2 separate regions of the Homo sapiens genome follow, and region 2 is linked to region 1. Evidence: promoter capture Hi-C in human tissues and cell types (Jung and others, 2019). All regions are on one chromosome and are shown on one strand. Each heading gives the region's core, a stretch centred on a gene start or on the middle of the fragment in contact. The rest is flanking DNA. Distances are from core to core; before and after follow the strand shown. Region 1 holds the start of ZFYVE19 (zinc finger FYVE-type containing 19). Region 2 overlaps CHP1 (calcineurin like EF-hand protein 1).

What was found. The method cuts DNA at HindIII sites, captures the fragments that hold promoters and counts their contacts. A contact is called where the count stands out against the background at its distance.
Region 2: a contact is called between a fragment that was not itself captured here and the fragment with the promoter of ZFYVE19 in region 1, in 1 of the 25 tissues and cell types used here (lymphoblastoid cells).

The regions. Positions count from the first base shown.
Region 1 is chr15:40,804,121-40,809,024 of GRCh38, reverse strand. It overlaps ZFYVE19 (zinc finger FYVE-type containing 19), which reads right to left and starts at 1,936. Exons shown (of 11, transcript NM_001077268.2): 1 at 1,157-1,936. The coding sequence starts at 1,435. DNAJC17 (DnaJ heat shock protein family (Hsp40) member C17) reads left to right here and starts at 1,552. Exons shown (of 11, transcript NM_018163.3): 1 at 1,552-1,656. The coding sequence starts at 1,579. RefSeq lists enhancers at 904-953, 1,584-1,633, 1,674-1,723, 2,184-2,273. The HindIII fragment of the contact is 16,570 bases long and covers 1-4,904 here.
Region 2 is chr15:41,236,383-41,241,286 of GRCh38, reverse strand. The region is part of intron 1 of CHP1 (calcineurin like EF-hand protein 1); the gene reads right to left. Among named protein-coding and RNA genes, the nearest start is that of CHP1, 7.6 kb to the right of the region's middle. The HindIII fragment of the contact is 5,914 bases long and covers 1-4,904 here.

The DNA of each region.
Region 1 (4,904 bases), core at 687-3,186:
AGTTATGACCAGCTGCTGGGAGGAAGAAGAGGAGTGGGGCCCCTAAGGCCTAGGGATGGTGAGTAAAGCAATTCCTCGGTTTCCAGTACCTTATTCAAGCCAAATGAAGGTTTATACAAAATTCCCATGCTTTCTACCCTGTCTTCAATTCCCTGACCCAGGGATGTAGAAGACAGATAGATAAAGCCCAGTATTTCAGGCCACTGACTCTTCCACAAAGGAGAATCAGAGAGACAGGGCAGAGCCGATGCCTCCTCTGCTCTTGCAGAGATGGAGGGAGGCTTGGCTCAGGATGGGCTAACAATAGCCTCCATTTATTAAGCACTTACTATGTGCCAGGCACTAAACCCAGTACTTAACATTCATCATGTGATTTATTCCTTACAATTTACACACATTATTTTACTTAATCTTGATGCCAACCGTGATTATCCTTATTTTGAGAGGGCCAGAGAGGTTACATAACTTATCCAAACCAAGGTCACCGCCTCAATAAGACAGCAGAGCTCAGATTTGAACGCTGACTCCAAAATCCAGGTTGGTGAATGCTGCACGGTCCTGCCTTCCTGCGTGACACTAATTTACTCCATCTAGTTCCCATCATCTCCTGGTCAGAATCCCTGGCCACAACTGAGGCAGAGGGAACCTGCAGTTTACCAGAGGAATCTGGCAGGTCTGTGATAGGGACAGGACAGTCAGCCTTCACCATGGTGCCCCGGAAGCAGGAGGAAGTGTGGTAATCTAACTCCAGCGACCTGGAGAAGGGCAGGCTGCGGGATGGGGAAGATTTCAGAGCAGAGGGAGTAACGGGCTTGGTGTGATGGACACCGCGCTTCGGAGGAGCAGGGTGGAGAGAAGAAAACCGCCAGATGCTACACTGGGCCGACAGAAAAGAGTAGCTTTGCAAAAACGACGGCAGCGCGCTTTACAGTTTATAGGGAACTCTCACCTAAAGCACTTCAGTGGACCCTCACATAAACCCTGAAAGCGAGAGAATGTTAGCCCCATTTTACAGAAATGGAAACTGAGGATCAATGACTTCATCAAAACCACACAGCTGGAAAGGAGCCGTAAGACCAAGTCTTTGGACGTTAAGTCCCGCGCTTTTCCCTCCTCTCCTCCCTGGCCCTGCAGCCCTCGGGGAGGGAAGACTCGCCTCCTTCTTGAAGAGGGTGAACTTGACAGCGCAGCCGTAGCACCTACTCTCCATGGTGGCTCCCAGCACCGCAGGGTCTGCAGAGCTGAGATCACGCCGGCCAAGTCCTGGGCCCCTTGGACCCTCACCCCAGCTCCGCCCTTCCCTTCCCTGCCCTGCCCCGCCCCACACGCCCACTGGCACTGTCCCGCCGCGACCTAGAGCAGGGAATCCGGACGCTCTCCTGCAGCCAGCGTACGGCAGCGGCGGCAACGGGGGCTGCTGGGAGTCGTAGTTCATTCACGACTGCCGGCCTCCCTCAGAGTCAGTCAAGCCTGACCCAGAACACAATTCCCAGAGGGCTAGGCGCCGCTCGGAGCCTGCAGTCCTCACGCGCGCTTAGACTCTTGGGAGTTGTAGTACGAATCCGTCAGGCCGGAACCATGGCAGTGACCAAGGAGCTCTTACAGATGGACCTGTACGCGCTGCTAGGCATTGAGGAGAAGGCAGCGGACAAAGAGGTGAGAACGGTGGCGAGGAAGGCTGATCTTGAGAGGTCTGGCGGTCCTTCCTGTCCTAGCGCCTCGGCCACTGCTGGCATCCGCTCTCCAGGTTCATTCGGGTCCTGGGCGGGGAGCGAGGGTCGGCGCTATGCCCTCCGCAGGCGGGCTCCCAGACATTTCCTGGACGGTCCGAGGGCCTCAAGAGGAAGCGGGGTACAGAGGGCTCTTCGCGCCGGGTGGCTGTGCTCTCCCCGTGGCCCCTGTCTCCTAGAGGCCGCGGGGCGAGGCAGCAAGGAACGCTAGCCTCCTCTGCGCCTGCGCAGTCTCGGCCTCCGTTTCCGCTTCTGCCTTGACTGTGACAAGAGGTGCCTCATTTCAGTCTCTTCTGCAGGCTGATTTAATTCTTCCACTAAGAGCCTAGAACGAAAGAAAAGTAAGATCTCAAAGCCTCTCCACTCCCTTTTCATGCCCCCTTGCCAATGTGACCGATGACCCTGCTGTCTCTATTTTCTTTTCCACTCAAGCCCATTGACTCTTTTCAAGTAGCTGATGCCCTTCTCAGCATGTGCTAGTTAGTGGGCTAAAAGCAGGAGGATCAGAAGGTTAAGGCAGATGGTATAGAGGTCCATGCTACCTTAGGTGGTGATAAAGATGCCAGGGAGTGAAACACTGATCAAGCTGGATTTAGGATTTCTTTTATCTCCCCCTGGATCATGGTGGTAGTTTTAACAATATACGAAGGAGAGGCGTTCATCAAATGAAAATTAGTGCCCAACTGAGCCGAGATCGCGCCACTGCACTCCATCCTGGGCGACAGAGCAAGACTCTTTCTCAAAAAAAGAAAGAAAGAAAGAAAATTAGTGTCTACTAGGCCGGGCGCGGTGGCTCACGCCTGTAATCTCAGCACTTTGGGAGGCCGAGGCGGGCGGATCATGTGGTCAGAAGTTCGAGACCAGCCTGACCAATATGCTGAAACCCCTTCTCTACTAAAAATACAAAAATTAGCCGGGCGTGGTGGCACACACCTGTAGTCCCAGCTACTTGGGAGGCTGAGGCAGGAGAATCACTGGAACCCGGGAGGCGGAGGTTGCAGTGAGCTGAGATTGCACCACTGCACTCCAGTCTGGGCGACAGAGCGAGACTGTCTCAAAAAAAAAAAAAAAAAAGGAAAAAAAAATAGTGCCCACTAATGTCCCAGTACTTCTGGGCTGCCCTGCTCATGGGGTGAGTGAGCTTTTGAGAAGAGGAAGCTCTGGGGCAGAAAATCAGAGAGACCCAGAGGGCCCTTGAGAAATGCTGTCAACCTGCACAAATCTGTCCCCTGCAGCCGCAGCTGAAATCAGAAATGGCCATGGGATGTCTATGAAGCATCAAAAGCATCTGCTCCACCTCTCTCGTGTTTCAATATTTTAGGATTAATAATTCCTAACATCTGTATAATGCTTACTATGTCCTAGACAGTATTTTTTTTTTCTGGATAGTATTCTAAGTGCTCTATGTTTACAAATTATTATTTTTTAAATTCTTTATTATTATTATTTTTTATTATTGTTTTTGAGACGGAGTCTCGCTCTGTGGCCCAGGCTGGAGTGCAGTGGCGCGATCTCGGCTTACTGCAACCTCCGCCTCTCGGGTTCACGCCATTCTCCTGCCTGAGCCTCTCCAAGTAGCTGGGACTACAGGCGCCTGCCACCATGCCCGGCTAATAATTTTTATTTTTAGTAGAGACGGGGTTTCACCGTGGTCTCGATCTCCTGACCTCGTGATCTGCCCACCTCAGCCTCCCAAAGTGCTGGGATTACAAGCGTGAGCCACCGTGCCCGGCCTATTATTATTTTTTGAGACGGAGTCTCGCTCTGTCGCCCAGGCTGGAGTGCAGTGGCGCAATCTCAGCTTACTGCAACTTCTGCCTCCCAGGTTCAAGCGATTCTCCTGCCTCAGCCTCCGGAGTAGCTGGGACTACAGGCATGTACCACCACGCCCGGCTAATTTTTTTTTTTTTTTTTTTTTTGAGACAGAGTATCACTCTTTGGCCCAGGCTGGAGTGCAGTGGCATGATCTCGGCTCACTGCAACCTCCGCCTTCCTGTTTCAAGTGATTCTCCTGCCTCAGCCTCCCAAGTAGCTGGGATTACAGGCACCCGCCACCACGCCCAGCTAATTTTTGTATTTTTAGTAGAGACGGGGTCTCACCGTGTTGGCCAGGCCAGTCTTGGATTCCTGACCTCGTGATCTTCCCACCTCGGCCTCCCAAAGTGCTGGGATTACAGGTGTGAGCCACTATGCCCTGCCTGCAAATTATTTAATTAGTACTTTATTAATAGTGAGAAACTATTTGAGACATTTCACAAAAGATCCAAGTGGGAAATCTGGAGGGTTTTTTTTTGAGACGGAGTCTCACTCTCTTGCCTAGGCTGGAGTGCAGTGGTGCAACCTTGGCTCACTGCAACCTCTGCCCCCCAGGTTCAGGGAATTCTCCTGCCTCAGCCTCCTGAGCAGCTGGGATTACAGGCATGTGCCACCACACCCAGCTAATTTTTGTGTTTTTATCAGAGACAGGGTTTCACCATGTTGGTCAGGCTGGTCTTGAACTCCTGACCTCAAGTGATCTGCCGGCCTTGGCCTCCCAAAGTGCTGGGATTACAGGCGTGAGCCACCGCGCCCGGCTGAAATCTAGAGTTTCTAACCCTGAAGTTGAGAACTCCTGAGGAAGTCAGTTGGAAGTCATTCTCTATTAATTAGAGAAGTTACATAATCAGATTTTATTTTTTTTTTATTTTTATGTCTATTTTTTGAGAAAAGATCTCACTGTCATTCAGGCTGGAATGCAGTGGCACAATCACAGCTCACTGCAGCCTCGACTTCCTGGGCTCAAGTGATCCCACCTCAGCCTCTCATGTAGTTGGGACTGCAGGTGTGCATCATCATGCCTGGCTAATTTGTTTTGTGTTTGTTTTTGCTTTTTTTTTTTTTCCAGAGACGGGGTCCAGCTATATTGCCCAGGCTGGTGTCGAACTCCTGGGTTCAAGCTATCCTCCTGCCTGGTCTCCCAGAGTGCTGGGATTGCAGGCATGAGCCACTGTGCCCTGCCCATAATTGGATTTTAAAGAAAGTATTTGACTGAGTGTGATGGCTCACACCTGCAATCCCAGCACTTTGGGAGGCCAAGGTGGAAGGAACGCTTGAGGCCAGGAGTTTGAGACCAGCCTGGGAAACGTAGTGAGAGCCTGTCTCTCTCTCTATATATAAAAAAAAAAGCTGGGCAGG
Region 2 (4,904 bases), core at 1,350-3,849, 430 kb before region 1:
TGCCAGTTACAACCGTTTTCTTTAAGAACTTGACCAGTCTATCCCAGTTCTGGCCTCAGGCCTCAAAGGCTATTCTTGTACTAAAGTTCCCTTTAGTTTAACAAAAATAAGTCAGTTAAAGAATTACTAAATTTCAGGCTGGGCGCAGTGGCTCACGCCTGTAATCTCAGCACTTTGGGAGGCCAAGGCGGGCGGATGCTGAGGAAAAGAGATCGAGACCATCCTGGCCAACATGGCGAAACCTCGTCTCTACTAAAAATACAAAAATCTGCTGGGTGTGGTGGCGTCTGCCTCTAGTCCCAGCTACTTGGGAAGCTGAGGCAGGAGAATCACTTGAACCAGGGAGGCGAAGGTTGCAGTGAGCGGAGATCACGTCACTGCACTCCAGACTGGTGACAGAACAAGACTCTGTTTCAAAAAAAAAAAGAATTACTAAGTTTCCCAAAAGATTTTTTGAAAAAAACAAAATTTGTTCACAATCCCAACACTGCCATTTTCATTTCTTCATAGATCTTTTTTTTTTTTTTTTTTTTGAGATAGAGTTTCGCTCTTCTTGCCCAGGCTGGAGCGCAATGGCACAATCTTGGCTCACCACAACCTCCGCCTTCTGGGTTCCCGTGATTCTCCAGCCTCAGCCTCCCAAGTAGCTGGAATTATAGGCATGCGCCACCACACCCAGCTAATTTTGTATTTTTAGTAGAGACAGGGTTTCTCCATGTTGGTCAGGCTGGTCTTAAACTCCCAACCTCGGGTGATCCACTCACCTCGGCCTCCCAAAGTGCTGGGATTACAGGCATGAGCCACCGCGCCCAGCTCTTCATATATCATCTAATATCAGTTACTCGTGTACTTTACAAAGTTGTAATAGCTTGCTTTTCATTTAGTAATTCATACTTTTTCTATATTGCTTTGGAGTCCTTCTTTATCCAATTTATATAATTTTAAAATTGGTAGAAATGTTATCTAATCCGACCCCTTCAATGAACAAATGAGAGCCAGGCATGATGGCTGGCGCCTATAATCCCAGCACTTCCAGAGGCAGAAGCAGGACAATGATTTGAGGCCAGGAGTTCAAGACCAGGCTGGGGAACAAAATAAAAATAAAAATAAAAAATAAAATTATTTTAAACCAAAAAAATCCACAAATGAGCCATTAAACATCTTTCTAATCTATATCATCTAAAATAACTGGGCACTGAGGCTGGGCGTGGTGGCTCACACCTGTAATCCCAGCTGTAATCCCAGCACTTTGGGAGGCCGAGGCGGGCGGATCACGAGGTCAGGAGATTGAGACCATCCTGGCTAACACGGTGAAACCCTGTCTCTACTACAAATACAAAAAATTAGACGGGCGTGGTGGCAGGCACCTGTAGTCCCAGCTACTCGGGAGGCTGAGGCAGGAGAATGGTTTGAACCTGGGAGGCGGAGCTTGCAGTGAGCTGAGATTGCGCCACTGCACTCCAGCCTGGGTGACAGAGAGGAGACTCTGTCTCGAAAAAATAAATAAATAAAAAAGAAATAAAATAACTGGGCACTGAAACCTCCTATAGTATGTTAAGACCAGTTTATGGCTGCTTAAATTCAAAATGTGGCAAGGCCTGGTGGCTCAAGCCTGCAATACCAGCACTTTGGGGGGCTGAGGGCGGGCAGATCACCTGTGGCCAAGAGTTCAAGACCAGCCTGGCCAACATGGTAAAACCCTGTCTCTACTAAAAATACAAAAATTAGCCAGGTGTGGTGGTATAATCCCAGCTACTTGGGAGGCTGAGGCAGGAGAATCGCTTGATCCTGGGAGATGGAGGTTGCAGTGAGCTGAAATCTCACCACTGCACTCCAGCCTGGGCGACAGAGTGAGACTCCGCCTCAAAACAAAACAAAACAAAACAAACGATAACAAAAAATAATGTACTAATATGTTAAAAATAAATAATGTAAATAAGTAGCCAAAACATTAAAAAAAAAAAAACTATCTTCCAGGACGAACTGGGTTATATGGGAGTCAGTGGAGAAACATACAACCAAATGTCAACTTTTAATACTAATCAATATGGTCATATCTAAACTTATCTCCAAAATTTTAGAACAAATTTTAGAACCATAACGATATGGTTACAAGTAATTTTGTTAACAAAAAGAAGGAGAGAAGGCTTTAATTTAGGTACTAAATTCACTGTGACAAAGAATATAAAGCAATCTCAGAACAATCCCAATCTACCTATAAAGGAGCTACACCATCCATGTGTAGAAAGGTACTGGAACTGGTGTGAATGAAGGCAGATCATGTTTCCAGTGAAGTATTTTCCCCAGAAGGCTCTAAGCTAGTCAGATAGGTGCCCAAAACCTGCACAATTCTTGGTAACCCAAAGGAAATAACAGGAGTTGACAGTTACTCTCAGAGAAGGCCGTGCATATAAACGTGTCTTTTTTCTTTTTTTGAGATGGAGGCTTGCTTTGTCACCCAGGATGGAGTGCAGTGGCGCGATCTTGGCTCACTGCAAACTCTGCCTCCCAGGTTCAGGCCATTCTCCTGCCTCAGCCTCCTGAGTAGCTGCGACTACAGGTACCTGCCACCACCATGCCTGGCTAATTTTTTTTTTTTTTTGTATTTTTAGTAGAGACCAGGTTTCACCGTGTTAGCCAGGATGATCTCGATCTCCCGACCTCGTGATCCACCCGCCTCAGCCGCCCTAAAGTGCTGGGATTACAGGCATGAGCCACCGTGCCCTGCTATAAACATGTCTTGAATGAAGCTGTATTTTTTCTCCACTGGTATGGGTATATAATCATTTTAAATTGTTAAAAGATTATTTAAAAGACCCTGTTTGGCTGAGGGCAGTGGCTCATGCCTGTAATCCTAGCACTTTGGGAGGCTAAAGTGGGAGGATCCCTTGACGAAAGGCCAGTTCAAAACTAGCCTGGGCAACAAAGCAAGACTTCATCTCTATAATCAATCAATCAATCATTAGCTGGGCATCGTGGTGCATTCCTGTACGCTGAGCTATTTAGGAGGCAGAGGCAGAAGGACTGTTTCAGCCCAGGAGTTCAAGGTTGTAGTGAGCTATGATCACACCCCTCCACTCCAACCTGGGTGACAGAGTGAGACCCTGTCTCAAAAAAAAAACACACGCCAAAAAAACAAAAAAAGACCCTGTTAACGTTGCTGAAATCTTTCTATCATCACTGCATTGTGCAAAGAGGAGGAAGGCATTTCACAGAAGTGCGAAGCAGAAGTGGCAGAGGAAAGAATAAAAACAAAAAGGGAGTAAGAAAAAGTTATTTTGGAGGGCCAGGCATGGTGGCTCATGCCTGTAATCCTAGCACTTTTGGGAGGTGGGTGGATTACGAGGTCAAGAGATCAAGATCATCCTGGCCAACATGGGGAAACCCCATCTCTACTAAAAATACAAAAATTAGCCGGGCATGGTGGCACGTGCCTATAGTCCCAGCTACTCAGGAGGCTGAGGCGGGAGAATCCCTTGAACCCGGGAGGCGGGATTGCACCACTGCACTCCAGCCTGGTGACAGAACGAGACTCCATCTCAAAAAAAAAGAAAAGAAAAAGTTATTTTGTCCTTGCCTTTATTCCAAATCTTAATGCAGAAGAACAGACTGATAACCTATGTAAAGATTACAAGTACAGCTAAAGGTAGCTCTAGATAAAGGAAAGTTGAAGCCTGCGCTTCCCGGAATAGACTACACCTTAACATTCCCCCTGACATGAAGACTTCAAGCCCTGGACTAGTCTCTTAGGGATTAAGAGAGATTTTAAAACATTATATAAAACAAACAAAATCTATCTTCTTATAATTGGAGAAATTTGAATAGGAAGTGAATGATAGATAATATTAAGGTGGCTCACGTCTATAATCCTAGCCCTTTGGGAGGCTGAGGCAGGCAGATCATCTGAGGTTAGGAGTTCGAGACCAGCCTGGCCAACATGGTAAAACCTCGTATCTACTAAAAATAAAAACAATTAGCCAGGCGTGGTGGCACATGCCTGTAATCCCAGCTACTTGGGAGGCTGAGGCAGGAGAATCATTTGAAGCCAGGAGGCGGAGGTTGCAGTGAGCTGAGATCGCGCCACTGCACTCCAGCCTGGGCGACAAAAGTGAAACTCCATCTCAATTAAAAAAAAAAAAAGAAAAAGAAAAAAAGGGGCCAGGTGCGGTGGCTCACGCCTGTAATCCCAGCACTTTGGGAGGCTGAAGTGGGTGGATCACCTGAGGTCAGGAGTTCGAGACCAGCCTGGCCAACGTGGCGAAACCCCATCTCTACTAAAAATACAAAAAATTAGCCAGGCCTGGTGGCAGGCACCTGTAATCCCAGCTACTTGGGAAGCTGAGGCAAGAGAATGGCTTGAACCCAGGAGGCAGAGGTTGCAGTGAGCTGAGATCGAGTCACTGCACTCCAGCCTGGGCAACAAGAGCAAGACTCTGTCTCAAAAAAAAAAAAAAGATAGTATTAAGAAGTATTATCAACTTTCTTAGGTGTGATAATAGTATTGTTGTTACGTAAAAACCATCCCAATACTTAAGGGATACATGCAGAAGTATGAAGGGGTAAAGAGTTCCAATACCTGCAACTTTCAAATGGTTTATCCAGAAATTTACAAAAATAAAGCTTATATCTTCGCAGCTGCTGCTGGGGTCAATTATCTTCTGAATGAATAAACCTCCAACTACTCTCTGGTCTGGACCACCATCCCCTCCTTGCCCCCGCAAAAAAGTTCCTGGCCAGTGGCTCACCTCTGTAATCGCAGCACTTTGGGGGACTGGGATGAGCGGACCACCTGAACTCAGGAGTTCAAGACCAGCCTGGGCAACATGGTGAAACCCTATCTCTACAAAAAATTAAAAAATTAGCCAGGCGTGGTGGCATGTGCCTGTAGTCCCAGCTACTCAGGA